Regions from separate parts of the Homo sapiens genome. Here region 2 is linked to region 1. Evidence: promoter capture Hi-C in human tissues and cell types (Jung and others, 2019). All regions are on one chromosome and are shown on one strand. The core of a region is centred on a gene start or on the middle of the fragment in contact, and the rest is flanking DNA. Distances in the headings are between cores, read along the strand shown.

Evidence for each region. Contacts are between HindIII fragments. The study calls those that stand out against the background at their distance.
Region 2: a contact is called between a fragment that was not itself captured here and the fragment with the promoter of PRSS48 in region 1, in 1 of the 25 tissues and cell types used here (small bowel).

The regions. Positions count from the first base shown.
Region 1 is chr4:151,275,625-151,279,923 of GRCh38, forward strand. It overlaps PRSS48 (serine protease 48), which reads left to right and starts at 1,537. Exons shown (of 5, transcript NM_183375.5): 1 at 1,537-1,600; 2 at 4,172-4,299. The coding sequence starts at 1,549. All of the region lies in intron 1 of SH3D19 (SH3 domain containing 19), which reads right to left. The HindIII fragment of the contact is 14,422 bases long and covers 1-4,299 here.
Region 2 is chr4:151,627,448-151,631,248 of GRCh38, forward strand. It overlaps FHIP1A (FHF complex subunit HOOK interacting protein 1A), which reads left to right. Exons shown (of 14, transcript NM_001109977.3): 8 at 2,255-2,422. Among named protein-coding and RNA genes, the nearest start is that of GATB, 130 kb to the right of the region's middle. The HindIII fragment of the contact is 5,480 bases long and covers 1-3,801 here.

The sequences.
Region 1 (4,299 bases), core at 287-2,786:
ATCCTCCTGCCTCAGCCTCCCGAGTAGCTGGGGACTTCAGGTGCACATCACTACACCAGGCTAATTTTTAAATTTTTGTAGATATAGGGTCTCACTGTATTGCCCAGGCTGATCTCAAACTCCTGGTCTCAAGGGATCCTCCCCGTTCAGCCTTTCAAAGTGCTGGGATAATAGGCGTAAGCTACCACGCCCAGCCACTTCTATTATTATTATTATTATTATTATTTTTTTTTTTTTAGACGGAGTCTCGCTCTGTCGCCCAGGCTGGAGTGCAGTGGCGCCATCTTGGCTCACTGCAACCTCCGCCTCCCGGGTTCAAGCGATTCTCCTGCCTCAGCCTCCCGAGTAGCTGTGACTACAGGTGCACGCCACTACACCCAGCTAATTTTTGTATTTTTAGTAGAGACGGGATTTCACCATGTTGGCCAGGATGGTCTCAAACTCCTGACCTCAGGTGATCCACCCGCCTCGGCCTCCCAAAGTGCTGGGATTACAGGCATGAGCCACCGTGCCTGGCCTATTAGTTTTAAACTGCTTATATGTTTCTTTCAAGCATCCCAATATTTTAAGTTGCAAGAGAGCAGTAACATTTTAATAGTTCATTGAATTCTGCCTCCACAGACCTAGCACCCTACAAACAATTGGCACAGAAAACAAAAGGCAGAGTGAAGATTTCTGAGGTAGATGTTGTGGTGTACCATCCAGACCCCCCTTTAGAACTGAAGCATTCATTCCCTTAGCAGCTAGGAGTGTTGGCTGCTGACAGTTCACAGCTAAGTCTTATTCCAAGAACTGCCAACAGAGCCACCTCACCCAAGGTAATGCCCCCTCCTAGGAGGTGGCCTGCATCCAATGATGCAGACCCCTAAGAACGCATCCTTCTTAGCTCAGTACAGAAAGTCTCTGAGGGCCACCTCAGCTCCAGAGAAACTTGTGAGATAGGCTGTGGCCTCTGTTGCAAACGCATCACAGTTCAACTCTCCCTCTAACCAATCCTACTACCCACCCAAGAGCTGCTGATCCTGAGACCACTCTAAAATAAATTTCCTGCACACAAATCTCTGTCTTAGAGTCTGTTTCCCAGGAAACTTGACTTGCAGTGCAGCTAACACTGTAACAGAAATGAAAACAAACAAACAAAAAAACTCAGAAAAATTAACCAGATACTGGGTTCATTTCCTCTTTTCCATTTCTTGCTTTTGGAGAATCCTGTCCACCTTCTATCTCCTTGCTAGAGACAGGGTCCTGTTTCTTCCAGTGCCCTCAACCAGCCACTCCTCAACACCACAGGCAGAAACCCCAGAAACCCTGCTCTCCCAGGACAGCAGGGGGCGCCACAGACCCCAGTTCCTCCCCTGGGTCCTGCAGCTGCACTTCTGAAGTCTGGTCCCTTCAGGATCTGGCAGCGGGTGAAGACCAAAGGAGAGGAGGGGGTGAAGCAGAGGAATCCATCTAGGAGAAGCTAGTTCTGGCAGCTCCCCATTGGCCTCTTCCTGGGAGCCTGAGTCCAGGAAGCAGGAAGCGCTCACTGGCTCTGAGGACAGAGACATGGGCCCTGCTGGCTGTGCCTTCACGCTGCTCCTTCTGCTGGGGATCTCAGGTGAGCGCCAGGGTGGGGTTGAGAAGGCAGAGGCAGAGGATTTTTACTAAAGAGGGCATCACATAGAACAATGTGACACTTCACCCATGGGATGTTAGTTATGAGTAGCACAGCCTGAGAAGGTCCTGAGAGGCTACTATATACCCAGCACCATTCCAATGCTCCCGATTGGAAATAGCAGTACACACACACACCCACAAGATCCCTATCTTCGTGGGACTTATAATCAATGCACATATTAAATGTGTAAATTATAAGGCTTGTTAGAAGGTAATAAGTACTATGAAAGGAAAGGGGCATCTGAAGTACAGGGGCAGGAGTGTTGCAATCTTTAGAAGGGTAGTTAAAGAAGGCCTCACTAAGAAGGAGTCATTTGAGCAGAACTGAAGGGGATAACTAAATTAAGTAAGAGGATCCAGGAAAAGAGCATCTCAAGCAGAGGGAACTGGAAGAGCAAACACTATTCTATGATTTCAGGTATATGCTTGTTCATTTATTTTTCTGGTCCACAGGGATTTAAAGGAAGGGTATACTGGCCAGGCACAGCAGCTCACGCCTGTAATCCCAGCACTTTGGGATGCCAAGGCGGGCAGATCACCTGAGATCAGGAGTTCAAGACCAGCCTGGGCAACATGGTGAAACCCCATCTCTACAAAAAATACAAAAATTAGCCGGGCGTGGTGGCGGGCACCTGTAGTCCCAGCTACTCAATAGACTGAGGCAGGAGAAGTGCTTGAGCCTGGAAAGTGGAGGTTGCAGTAAGCCGAGATAGCGCCACTGCACTCCAGCCTTAGCGACAGAGTAAGACCCCGTCCCCCCAAAAAACAGAAAGGGTATGCTGAGAGAGCAAAAAACTTAACAGGTAGCAAAGAAGAAAGATACACAAATACTGCAAAATGCCAATTCAGTTAAACCAAATAGCACAAAAGTAAACAGCTTGCAACCTCAACCGCATCTGAGGGCATCATTGTATTTATAAACTAACATACTTCATATTCCTGATGGTGACCTTGAATCAAGTAAAAGCTAAATTTGAATCTTCATAGAGCATTTTTTTTTTAAGAGACAGAGTCTCACTCTGTCACCCAGGTTAGAGTGCAGTGGTGCAATCATAGCCCACTGCAACCTCAGACTCCTGGGTTCAAGCAATCCTCCCACTCAGCCTCCCTAGTAGCTGGGACTACAGGTGTGGTTGAACCACACCTGTTGTGTTTGTGGCCCAAAAGAAGAAAAAAAAAACCCTGACTAGTATTTAGGAAGTGATTTGTGAAAAGTAAGAAAAGTCTCTAATATAGCACCTGTCTCCAACATTCCTTTTTCTACTTCTGTGCCTTATCTCTGGTCATCCCTAGTTTGAGAGTCCCATGTGACCTAGGGTTTCCTTCTGCCCTGCCTATCTCACCACATTTTTTTCCTTTTCTTTTCAGACAGGGTCTCACTCTCTCGCCCAGGCTGGAGTGCAGTGGCATGATCTAAACTCACCGCATCCTCCACCTCCCGGGCTCAAGCAATCCTCCTGCTTCAGCCTCCCAAGTAGCTGGGACTACAGGCATGCACCATCATGTCAGGCTAATTTCTTTATATTTTTTGTAGAGACGGTGTTTGGCCATGTTGCCCAGGCTGGTTTTGAACTCCTGGACTTGAGCAATCCACCCACCTCAGCCTCCCAAAGTGCTGGGGTTATAGGCGTGAGTCACTGTGCCCAGTCAATCTTACCACTTTCATTTGTCTATTGGTTCATTTATGTAGTCATGCAAATATTCACTGAGAACCTGTCTGTGTGCTAGCTACCAGCTAGAGCTCACACTTGTATGTAGTGTGCTGTTGTCAGTATCCACCTCTCACTGACCAGGGAACATCCACAGATAAAGCTGTGGCCCAAGTATAGGCTGACCTGCCAAGGCCAGCACCCTGCAGCAGCATCTTGGCCATCTACAACACGTCTTGAGTATACAGGTCACCAGCACACTAGAGAAAGAAGAGAAAGAGAAATGTGGAAATCTTTTTCTTTTTCAATTTTTTTTTTAGAGACCTGGTTTCACTATATTGCCCAGGCCTCAAGCAGTTCTCCCACCTCATCCTCCCAAAGCACCAGGATTACAGGCATGAGCCACTATCCCTGGTTTAAAAAAAAAATTTTAAGTTAAATGATATTCCATGTGTGCTGCTAAAGAAGGCAGGTAAGTATGTTTGTGAAGATTCCCACTAATAGGTAGAAGGCATTTGAAAATTTTGGCCTTTAACACCAATCTGGAAAATTTAAATATAAAGGAAGGTTCTCTGTTCAGTGAATCTAGATATTAGATGTGTTACTATGTGTTAATGATACCCTATTTCTTCCTTAGGTTCTTGCTTACACTCTTTTCCCAAAAAGAAAGAGCTACAATCAGGGGAGTGGTCTCCATTTTGAGCCCAAGACTGCTGGGTGTGGAACCAGAATAGGATGGAGTATGGTGTCTAGGGAGGGTTCAGGTCCTAGGAATAGATGGGAGTTTGGGAATGATGATAAGGTGGGGACCAGAGAAACAGGACTCCTAGGTTTCCACATTTCCCTTTCTTCTCTTTCTCTAGTGTGTGGGCAACCTGTATACTCCAGCCGCGTTGTAGGTGGCCAGGATGCTGCTGCAGGGCGCTGGCCTTGGCAGGTCAGCCTACACTTTGACCACAACTTTATCTGTGGAGGTTCCCTCGTCAGTGAG
Region 2 (3,801 bases), core at 1,039-3,538, 350 kb after region 1:
GCAAAGGCTGGAATTCTGTATAACATGTCAGTTCAGCAGTGTTCCATAGATAAGCTGAAAATATTGTGTTACAGAAACTACATACATGGCCTGTTTGGAATGATTATGCAACTTTTTTCTAGTGATCAAGGTTGTTGGGGAATTAGATTTTTGCCTAAATCATTTAGGATTAAGTTTCTGCTAAAGGATCCCAAGTTTGCAGTAGTGAAGTGGATGTGAGCTAATGTAGGGTTGTTGTGAGTCATTTCCCCCTTAGCTATGATTGGTGACATCAGTTATTACAGAGATCTTTATAAAAAACGTCTCTACTTTCTGGGACCTTCAGGACACATGTAGAGGATAAAGGATAATTAAAAGTTAAACTAAATTCTGGCAAATATAAATCACTAGATCTTTGGGGCTATCATTCACTCAGGAAGAAGTACATTTTATGTGCCAGGCTTTGTGCATTGCATTGAGGTAATAAAGAAAAGACACAGTGTGCATCCCAGGGCAGCATTAGGAGTGCTTCATATATGGGACTAGAAAACATCAGGAAACACAAAGACGGAAGTAGTTTGTTTCAGAAGCAGGGGCAGACCATGAAAAGCACTCTTCCCAGTGCAATTTATTTGTTAAATGTTTGATGGTTGCCTATTTCTGTTGCTGTATATGGGCCACAGAGAGCTCTTTACAGTTGGTCAGATGACATAGTGGTGTATTGAATGACTGAGAACTTGCATTGTTGGCACCGAGCTAGGGGAAGGGGATTTGCGCTATGATATGTACTCAGACCACTGTGGAATGACTTCTCGTTAGATACTAATGCACTGGATAAGCATGCCTTGCTTAGATAAAGAAAACAGACACACTGACTTGGTAATATCTTATCCACCTGGGCTCATCTATCCAGAAGAAAGCTGAGCACCAATAACTTTTTAAAAGTAATTTAAACTGCCAAAATAGATAGCTCCAAGCCTTTATGCACAGATGCATCCACTCAGGGCTCATCTACACTTATGTAGCAGATCTGGACATCTGGTTTCTAAACTAATCTGTGGATTTTAAAAGCCGAAAATTAAAAGGGGAAGAGGAATGGAATATAAAAGGAATGGCCCAGTAACCGTAAGATAATGTGACAACTAACACTTTTAAAGGAAGAGAATGAAAGAAGATTTTAAAAAATGGAAAAGGGAAAATAATCACTCAAAAAGTATTGCCATCTGTTTTGTTTAAAATCGAGTGCATTTGACTCATGGTGGAGGGATTGCTAAGATTTCTAGGGTGTGTGGTATTAGAATCTGAGAGTTTGAACTATTTCTCTGGTGGTTTTCACGCATTCAGGTGTGGCTGTTTCTTTATGCTTCTGCGGGGCAATTGATGACCCTGGGAATGACCTCTATTCATCAAGAGATGGTATATTCTCATCTTAGGAGGACAAAGATGTATATGCTAGCTCTTAAAATACTCCCAATAAAAATGTTTAAGGTTAGAATTTTGATACTTGAAGCATCAAATCCTCGGCTTCTTGAAAAACTTGGCTCTTCAGAGTCTTATTCACTGAAAAATTGACATTTTACTGCATGAGAAAATTACACCAGGTAGCATATATTAATTTGTTATAAAAAAGTCGCAGTTACTTTATAAGCAGTAAGTTCTTATAGTACTTTGTAAATAACATTTTATGTGTATTATTCAGTTATAAAAAATTTGACATGCAGCTCTCCAGAAACACATCGGAACATCTGTAGCACTTTGTGTCTGTACTGCTCCTTTGCAATTTATATTATCATTTTGCTTGTCATAGCTCATCTTTCTGGACATAAGGAATGTTATGTTTTCAGCTCCTCGTACATAACAGGTCCCAATAAATGTTTACTGAATGACTAATAAAGAAACAAGTTATTCCGGGCTTTCTAATTAATCCTTTACTAACCATGTAAATACTTTCCATTATCTTTTTTCTTCATTTTTGATTACACTCTAAAATCTTTATGGTATTTGAACTGCATTTGATGATTAGAGTTACCAGAACACTTGAATTGATTCTTTATGCCTTTCTTTTTCCTTATTGAATTAAAGGGCGGAAACAGCATGAGGTATTGTGGAATGTGAATAGGTTATGGGCTTCAATAAAGCTCTGAAGTGTGTTTTCGTGGGCAGGCATGTTCTTGCCTTGATGATGTCACTGTGGTGAGGCTGGGGGCCACGGGAGAGGCGTGTATCACAGCATCAAAAGGATGCTCACCTGTGCTCACTCCGTTGTTTGTCCTAGGTGACTGTGGAAGAGGTCATGACCACAACTGCATATCTGGACCTTTTCCTGCGTAGCATCTCCGAGCCAGCACTACTTGAGATCTTCCTCCGTTTTATCCTATTGCACCAGCACGAGAATGTCCACATCCTAGACACTCTCACGAGTCGAATCAACACCCCGTTTCGGGTAAGGAGAGCGCCAGAGGAAGGGAACTTACAACTCAGAACAGATTTCAGGAGAGTTTTTTTTTGGGAATGAAATTATGAATATTCTCTTTTGCTCTCCTTTTTTTTTCTTTTTCTTTTTTGGTTGTTGTTGTTTTGTGGCCATTACCTTCTTTCTATTTGGGTAGAGATGAATGGAATAATGCGTTTTGTTCTCAGGGATCCTTCTGTCAAGAGGTGACACTTACTGCCTTTCCTAGGACATCTTTCGCTATTTCTCTGTTTTAGCACTTTCTTCTGTAGAACTAGCAGAGTGCACTTCTGTGGGGGCAAGATGCAAGGGAACATGTGGGCTTAAGCACAGATAAAGCCAAGGAACCAGAGTGCATCAAGTCTGGGTGTTAGAGATCATATTCCTGTCCATGAGTTTTCTTGAAATGGAAGTTTGGAAAGTTGTGAATTTGGGTGGTCATTCTTCATTTTGAAGCTCTGATTAACTTGAAAAATACTCCTCCCCAAAGGCTATCTCTAGTTAATTGCAATTCTTGTTTTAAAAGCAAAAGAATGAGAATGTATATATCATTCGGTTTGCAACATATATAGAGATAATATATAACAATAATTGCACAAAGGGGGGAAGAGGGAATAGACTTATATAGGAGTAATATTTCTATATTTCACTAGAGCTAATTTAATATAAACTTGAAGTAAATTCTGATAAGTTAAAATGTATACTGGAAGCCCTAGAGCAACCACTAAGAAAATAACTAAAAAAAGTGGAAAAATCTTTTAAAGGAATTAAAATGTTATACTAGAGAAAATATTCAATTAGCACTACACTTATCAGCAACATAATACACATTCTCCTCAAATGTACATGGAATATTCTCCAAGACAGACCATGTGCTAGGCCATATAACAAGCCTCAGTGAATTTAAGAGGATTGAAATCATGCAAAGCATGTTCTCTGATCATGATGGATGGAAATTAAAAAATTATTGACAGAAAGAAATTTGGGAAATTCACAAGTATATGGAAATTGACACACTTCTAATCAGTGGGTCAAAGAAGAAATCACAAGGAAAATGAGAATTTACTTTGAGATAAATGAGAATGAAGACAAAATATATCCAGACTTATGAGACACAGTGAAAGCATTGTTTAAAGGGAAATATATAGTTGTGAACACATATGTTAAAAAAAGAAGAAAGAGCTCAAAGCAGTAACCTAAGCTTCTACTTTAACACACTGGAAAAAGAAGAGCAAACAAAGCAGGCAGAAAGAAAACAATAAAGATTAGAGCAGAAATTAATGAAATAGAAAATTAAAAAAATGGAGAAAATAGGTGAAATAAAAAGTTGGTTCTTTGACAAGATTCACAAACCTTTAGCTAGGCTGAGA